Linked DNA regions of Homo sapiens: region 1 is linked to region 2. The links are contacts of gene promoters, found by promoter capture Hi-C in blood cells and fetal thymus (Javierre and others, 2016). All regions are on one chromosome and are shown on one strand. The core of a region is centred on a gene start or on the middle of the fragment in contact, and the rest is flanking DNA. Distances in the headings are between cores, read along the strand shown. Region 1 overlaps TMEM164 (transmembrane protein 164). Region 2 holds the start of KCNE5 (potassium voltage-gated channel subfamily E regulatory subunit 5).

What was found. Contacts are between HindIII fragments. The CHiCAGO score rates a contact against its expected background, and 5 or more counts as called.
Region 1: a fragment that was not itself captured here is called in contact with the fragment with the promoter of KCNE5 in region 2 in 1 of 17 cell types (neutrophils); the score reaches 5.4 in neutrophils.

What each region holds. Positions count from the first base shown.
Region 1 is chrX:110,034,594-110,038,712 of GRCh38, reverse strand. The region is part of intron 2 of TMEM164 (transmembrane protein 164); the gene reads right to left. Among named protein-coding and RNA genes, the nearest start is that of MIR652, 19 kb to the left of the region's middle. The HindIII fragment of the contact is 5,858 bases long and covers 1-4,119 here.
Region 2 is chrX:109,622,772-109,626,918 of GRCh38, reverse strand. KCNE5 (potassium voltage-gated channel subfamily E regulatory subunit 5) reads left to right here and starts at 1,747. Exons shown (of 1, transcript NM_012282.4): 1 at 1,747-3,219. The coding sequence starts at 1,899. The coding sequence ends at 2,327. The HindIII fragment of the contact is 6,764 bases long and covers 1-4,147 here.

The DNA.
Region 1 (4,119 bases), core at 673-3,172, 410 kb before region 2:
GTATGGTGGGGTAAGGTGGGGTAAGGTGAGGTAAGGTTGGGTGAGGAGTGGTGATGCCAGGTGAGGTGAGGCCCACACAAGGCACTGGCCCCTGTCAATTATGAGTGAGGTGGAAGGGGCACTCAGTTCTCAGTTGCAAGATCTCCTGACACCAGGAGATTTAATTGTCAGTTGTGTCCCAAAGCCCCTCCAGGGTCAGGGTTTCTGAAGACTTACTACGTATGATTTAAATGGAGCATGTTTTCCCAAAAGGGAGGCTGTTCCTCAGCTGGACCATCTCCCTGAGCCAAAGTGGGCATGGAGGGTGGGAGTACAGGTAGGGTAGAGAATGAGGGTGGCTGGGTTAGCTGGGCATGTGGGAGAGTGTGAGAAGAGAGAGAATCCCTTTAATAGTGTTTTTCTTTTTCTTAAAAATGAGTCCAGGCCGGGCGCGGTGGCTCACGCCTGTAATCCCAGCACTTTGGGAGGCCGAGGCGGGCGGATCACGAGGTCAGGAGATCGAGACCATCCCGGCTAAAACGGTGAAACCCCGTTCTCTACTAAAAATACAAAAAATTAGCCGGGCGTAGTGGCGGGCGCCTGTAGTCCCAGCTACTTGGGAGGCTGAGGCAGGAGAATGGCGTGAACCCGGGAGGCGGAGCTTGCAGTGAGCCGAGATCCTGCCACTGCACTCCAGCCTGGGCGACAGAGCGAGACTCCGTCTCAAAAAAAAAAAAAAAAAAAAAAAATGAGTCCAAAGGCTGTTCTTTAGGAATACGATAGTTAATGATTAAGTCCATGTGCTAAGGTCACGATGCAGTTATGGAAATATAAGCAATCTAATAAAGGACGGAGTGAGGGCAGTAAGGAGTAGGTAGTGGGAAGAAATATTAATTCAACTTAATTGAAAGGTTCAACTTAATTTAAAGGTTAAAAAATGAGATTGAAAATATTCTCCTAACAGTAAAATTAGAAATTTGCTATCGGCCCTTAAAGGAAGCAGGCAAGTGAGAACAGAATGAATGGGCTCCCAGATTGTTTCTGAAGAGTCAAAGAGCCATTCAAGACACACCTTTCAAGGTACCAGGGTCACAGATGGCAATTTTGCCTGTGGCTAAGCAGAGGTGACTGGCCTGCCTCCTGTCACATAGGCGGCCATTCTCCACAGCCCCCCAGCTACAAGCCCTCCACAATATATGGTGGTGTATATCTGAACCACAGGAAGGCACACAATAACTGGAAGCTAATGCAAAAATAAATCATTTGTGTTTTCTGATGTGGCTGGGTTTTGATGGAGTTTGTGAATCACTACTGCCCAACCCTATCCACTGAAGGAGGGGCCAATAACTCACATCCTTTCCCAGCAGCTTCATACGCCTGGCAAAGGTGACCTTGCAACACCACACTCATCTATCACTCCTCTTTTCATGAATCTTTAATGGTTCCCTATCACCAATCGTATCATGTCCATATGTCTCCTCTAGGTATTCCAGCTTATTGTACTCTGCCTTTATCCTACCAATCTGGCATCATCTCCCTTTTCTCACAACATACACCTCCCGCTGGAATCAGTTTCCATTTTGAACCAAACTTATGGCTTCCCCTCTCTCTCTCTCTCTCTACGGCTCTACCAGGGTCTAGACTGCCTCTCCAAAATTCCAGAAAACTACAATGTCAATGTTACTGTGGGTCACTATACATACCCAGCTTCTTTTGGCCATAAAAAAGAGACCATAACTTTAAATATTCTACATTATCCTGCACTGTCCCATATGGTTACCACTAGCTACATGTGGCTATTTAAAGTATTTAAAATTAGTAAAATGAAAAAAAAAATCAGTTCCTCATTTGCAGTAACCACATATACAGTGCACAATAGCCACATGTGGCCACTGACTACCATATCAGACAGTGCAGATATAAAACATTTCCATCATCACATAAACTTCTACCAGATACACAAGAGAATAGCCTAACATATGCTAAAATTGTTTTTTATCACTACTTGGAAAATTTGATGATTCAAATTTCACAAAAAAGAGTGACTAGGACTTATAGATACAGCCCATCTTAAGTAACCAGCAAAGCATCTCTTATCAGTGATCCCAATCCGTTCTGTAAACATCACAGGTAATTGCAACATCGAATATTTTGAAAGGTCATCTGCAGCAGACCTTAGGCACCTTTCAACATAGCTCTGATAGGCTAATCAGCCCATTGTACACTAAGCTCTCTACTAGGCTCTGGGAGTCAATGCAAAGATAACATTACCCAGTGTCCATGCCATAGGCATAAAGCCAGTACAGAGATAACCAAAAAAAGGGGCAGAAAGACATAAATACCACAAGAGAGGTACACAGTGCTACAGGGATTCAAAGGCAAGAGATCATATCGAGTAGGAGGAACTAGGGAGGACTCCACAGACAGGTACATGAATACAGATAGGATTGAGCCCTAAAGAATAAGTAGAATTTTAACAGAAGGAGCCAGAAAGATGAAAGGGGGTAACTGCATGAGGAAAAGGAGAAGCAAGTTAGGGCCCAAGGTACATTTATGAAAAACTGAGCCAAAGAAGAACTATGTGATCCCATTCATCATTCAACAATCATTTGAAACTTTTTCTCCAATCACCTTAACAAAGAATTACACATTAACTTAGATGCCATTTTTTTAAAATTTGCTTTAAAAAAAAGATTTTGCTTTAGTGACAATATCTGATGTTGGTGAGGATGAGTTGGAAGAGGCTCTCTCTGTCCCCACTGCTAGTAGGAATGTACATAAGCACTACCTTTTTTAAAAAAAAACAACAAAAAAAGAGATATTAAGCTCCTTAAAAACATCCATACCCCTGTCCTGGTAACTCCACTTCAAGGAAAGTGACCTACAAAATAATGTGAAACACAAAGATTTGTACAAGAGTAAACTTTTTAAAGTTTATAACTGCAAAAAAAAAAAAATAGGAGCACATTGGGAGGCCGAAGTGGGCGGATCACTTGAGATCAGGAGTTCGAGACCAGCCTGGACAACATGGTAAAACCCCATCTCTACTAAAAAATACAAAAATTAGCTGGCCGCGGTGATGGTAGCCTGTAGTCCCAGCTACTTGGGAGGCTGAGGCACAAGAATTGCTTGAACCTGGGAAGCAGAGGTTGCAGTGAGCTGAGATCGTGCCACTGCACTCCAGCCTGGGTGACAGAGCAAGAATCCATCCCCCCTAAAAAAAAAAAAAGGAAATGGCTAGGTAAATTATGATCCAGTTACATACAGGATGGAGTACCACATAGGCATTAAGAGTTATGCCAACAAGTTTTAAATAACACAGGAAACGTTTATGAGGATGCTTAGTGAAAAAAATCAGGTATAAAATTGGCAATATACAGTATAGACACAAGCATGTAAAATAATGTGAAGAGAAGAAGGAGAATAAGCAAAAATGTTAACATTTTTGTGGCAAGACTATGAGTGATTTTTATTTATTTTTTTCATTTCTTTTTTTAATTTTATTTTATTATTATTATACTTTAAGTTTTAGGGTACATGTGCACAACGTGCATGTTAGTTACATATGTATACATGTGCCATGCTGGTGTGCTGCACCCATTAACTCGTCATTTAGCATTAGGTATATCTACTAATGCTATCCCTCCCCCCTCCCCCCACCCCACAACAGTCCCCAGAGTGTGATGTTCCCCTTCCTGTGTTCATGTGTTCTCATTGTTCAATTCCCACCAATGAGTGAGAATATGCGGTGTTTGGTTTTTTGTTCTTGCGATAGTTTACTGAGAATGATGATTTCCAATTTCATCCATGTCCCTACAAAGGACATGAACTCATCATTTTTTATGGCTACATAGTATTCCATGGTGTATATGTGCCACATTTTCTTAATCCAGTCTATCATTGTTGGACATTTGGGTTGGTTCCAAGTCTTTGCTATTGTGAATAGTGCCGCAATAAACATACGTGTGCATGTGTCTTTATAGCAGCATGATTTATAGTCCTTTGGGTATATACCCAGTAATGGGATGGCTGGGTCAAATGGTATTTCTAGTTCTAGATCCCTGAGGAATCGCCACACTGACTTCCACAATGGTTGAACTAGTTTTATTTTCTATAGCAGTGTTCAGCAAACAATAACCC
Region 2 (4,147 bases), core at 498-2,997:
GTGTAGCTCAGGCGATAATGCTCACTTGCCCTCTGCTCACCTCTTTCTGTGCGGCTGGTTCCTAACAGGCCAAGGTCCAGCAGCCTGGGAGGTTGGGGACTCCTGTTTTAACAGATAAGAGAAGTCTTTTTAGCTCAACAGTCATATCACTAGGTTAGCAGTGCTTTGAAAATTCTCTGGCTGTGTCCTCTGGCATTCATCCTGCCAAGTTGCTTTAACAATTCTTTCCTGAGGCCCTCTGAGGTGAGAATATTGAGGCAAGGTGATTAGAAGGGAGCCAGTGTCAGGGTCATGTGGAATGTCTCTGAGGCCTGTTTAGAGGCTGTGAAGCAAGGCTCTGTTTGAGACCCTGGATACAGTTTGGTGCCAACCTCACCTGAACACACAGAAGGCTACAGCCCCTGGGTGGATGGTGGGCTGAAGAACGGTTGGGGAAGAGGCATCGGAAAACCTTCCTTTTTTAACCCATGGCACCTATAGATTGAATGGTCCCTGGACTGAACGGTCTTGAACAGGCAGCATTATTTTCAAGGTGTGCCTAAGGTCATACACTTTTCTTGCTTTCTGCTCTCATTTGGCAACTATGGACAACCAGACCTAGCCAGCACTACCTCATTTTTTCTACCCCACCATCTACAAACCAACCCTTTTCCTTTGTGAAGCTCAGTCTGTTTCCAATTTAACATATCTGGCCTGATCTTTGTCTTGGTGCCTTGTTTTCCCCTAAAAAAAGACAGCCTTTGAGAAAAAAATGGCTGCCCTAAAAGCCATTAGGGCCTAGACCTGTTACCAAGTCTAGAGAGGCACACAGCTGTTTGCTGGCCTAACTGGGAGTAGGGTGAGCATATTCTCTAGAACTGGCACTTTTCAGATCCCGAGATATCCACAGAGTGTAGTCAAAGGGCCTTTTAAAATGTGCATGCTACTCTTATTGGAAGAACTTGGTTTCACTTCTGGGAAGATGGCTTACTTACCCATGGGAAACAGGCTCCCATTATGAATAGTACATTCATGTGCTAAGATGTGTTGACTTTTCAAAAAGTGTCATAGGACATCAGAGCAGGGGTGCTTCCAAGAAGGTGTAATATCACTTATATCACCAGAAACCATTTTGGATAACCAGGGAGTTCTACTCTGCCTTGGCCTTCTAGCAGGTGCCTGAGCACTCAGTCACCAAATTCAGCCTGAGCATCTTCTGAATAAGATGCTCTCCTCCGACAAGGTGGGAGGGGGGTGAAAAGGGGGGCGGGGGGAAAAGGAAAGGAATGAGGACTAGAAAGATAGGCCTGGGTCCCTGTATATGGGAGTAACTTCCATAAAATGTGGACAAGGGGTCTCTGCTGCGGAAAGGCGTCTGCCCTCTCCCTTGAGCGCCCCAAGGCAGAGCTGCCTTAGGGGGCCAAATGCTGTATCTGGGCCAAAGCCTGGCCTGCAGGGCAGGTGGCCAGAACTTGGAAGGAATTCTCTTCCGCAGCCCAGGGTCCAGGCTTGGCCCCAGCAAGCTGCCCTGCCAGCGTCTGCTGCCTGGGGCCTCGCGCATTCCGAGCCCCCGCCCCCTCCGCCCGTCTCCCAGCCTCGCCCCCACTCTTGTCCCCTTCTCCTCCCCCCACCAGCTGTCCCCTTTCCCTGGAGCAGCGAGACAGCCAGAGCCTGGGAAGAGGCGGCCGCGGGCCGGAGGGGGCGTGGTGGGGAAGGGGAGGAGGGGCGGGAGTGAGGGAATAAGGAGGCCCCGCCGTCGGCGCCCCCAGCCACTGCGCGCTCGCCGGAGAGCTGGGTGCTACCGCTGTTTCCGCTGCTGAGCCCTGCCCGCCGGCCGGCCCGCTCGCTAGCTCGCTTCCCCTCGCCCAGGGGGAAAGGTCAGCAGCGTCCTGGAGCCGCCGTGTCACTCCCCGAAAGCCATGAACTGCAGCGAGAGCCAGCGGCTGCGAACCCTTCTGAGCCGCCTGTTGCTCGAGCTGCACCACCGGGGTAATGCCAGCGGCTTGGGCGCTGGCCCTCGTCCCAGCATGGGCATGGGGGTCGTGCCTGACCCTTTCGTGGGCCGCGAGGTGACCAGCGCCAAGGGCGACGACGCCTATCTCTACATCCTGCTCATCATGATCTTCTACGCCTGCTTGGCCGGAGGCCTCATCCTGGCCTACACCCGCTCCCGTAAGCTCGTCGAGGCCAAGGACGAGCCGTCCCAGGCTTGCGCCGAGCACGAATGGGCCCCGGGAGGCGCCCTGACCGCCGACGCCGAGGCTGCCGCGGGCTCCCAGGCCGAGGGCCGCCGCCAGCTTGCCTCCGAGGGGCTGCCTGCCCTCGCCCAGGGCGCTGAGCGGGTCTAAAACCACAGCCCCAGATTGCTGGTTCGCGCCCTCCTCATCTCGCTCATCCCTGGGCGCGCCTCCCACCTTCCACCCCCAACTCCCTTCCAGGGTTCGCCTCATCTGAGGCCCAGATAATGGTGAGAGGCCAGGAGACCTTGTCTGGAAGGCCCTGGAAGGAGAAGCACCACCTTACCCATTCGGGCCAGTTTCTCCCTCTTCACCCCTGCGCCTCCACCCCTACCCCGCACATCCAACTGCACTAAACTGCCTCTGCTCTCTTGTCTTCAGACAGCCCTGACAGCACGCTCCAGCCCTCTGGGAACTGAATCCAACACGTCCAACACTTGGCACTGAACTGAAGCAATGCATTCTATCAGAACTCTGGGCCGTCTAACTGGCAGCTGCTCCAGGGGCTGCCAGGGACTGCTCACTCTGCAGAGCCAACGGGCTTGCCAGGCCGACTGCAGCAGCTCCAGCTTCCAGTTGCCTTAGGGACAGAGACAAAGGAAATGAAGAGACCTCAGACATCTTTTCCCTCCCTCTCTCTTTCAGCAGGGAGCTAGCAGGACACTAGGACCAGTCTGTGGGATAGAATGAACTTAATGGGGGACGGAAGGGGGAGGAGTGCTCAACGGGGAGGGAAATGATCTATGACTCCAACCGTATGATTTTCTTGCCTCCCCAGTTTTCATCCCAGTGGTAACGCCTGATTTTTGGTAGCTATGCCATCTTCTGCTGAGGATTACCATTACTGGGTGTATCACCCCAGTACTTCCAAATGCCTCTCCTCTATTGATTCAGTTGTTATTGCAGTGTCTGCTTCATCCGTGGAACTTGAGGCTCAGATGCCCCCTGCTCTGTAACCCTGGGGAATGTCAGAGGCAGGTAATAAAGGTTGTTTAAACAATAACGCAAGACTCTTCTCTCAGAGATTCCAGCCTTAAGACCCAGTACCATATGGAGAAGGAATCCTTTTTCTTTTGCTTTTGGAAATGATGTTTGGATTTGGGGGTTGGGTGGTTGTGATATTTATATCTATGTAACCAGTTCCAATTTGATATGTGTGATTATGGGTGAAGAAAATGTTTATATGGCTAAATGGGTTGTTTTTTCAAGTGTTTCAAAAGTTATACCTACTTTATTACTTATCCCTCCTTTTTTCTTATTTCTGAAGCACTTTCAAAGATCACAATGCAGTCTTTCAGGATGCACTTTAAAAAACCTTTAAGGCCCATCCCTTTTAGCTATTATCAAACCTAATTTTTAGAAGCCACCTTAATAATTGTTTTTATTTTACTTTTTTTGAGACAGAGTCTCACTGTGTCACCCAGGCTGGAGTACAGTGGCACAATCAAGGCTTACTGAAGCCTCTGCCTCCTGGGTTCAAGCGATTCTCCTGCCTCAGCCTCCCAAGTAGCCTCCTGAGTAGCTGGGATTACAGATGTGCCCCATCATGCCCAGTTAATTTTTGTATTTTTAGTAGAGACGGGGGGTTTCACCATGTTGGCCAGGAGGTTCTCAAACTCCTGACCTCAAGTGATCCGCCTGTCTCGGCCTCCCAAAGTGCTGGGATTACAGGTGTGAGCCACTGCACCTAGCCAATAACTTTTTTGAAGTGGCTTATTAAAAGACAAGGAAGCCACCAAATAGTGTAAATCTGAAGTCAAAGAGAAAATTCTTGAACTGAGCAATCTTAACCAATGATGGGTAAAGTTAGAGGTGTGTGTTGTATTGATTTATTCTCCTTGTCTCAAGAAGGTTGTCAGAAACTTCCCTGCTTACAGCTGAAATGCTTATATCTGATGATGGCTGTTTGGGCTTCATCAACCACACATAAA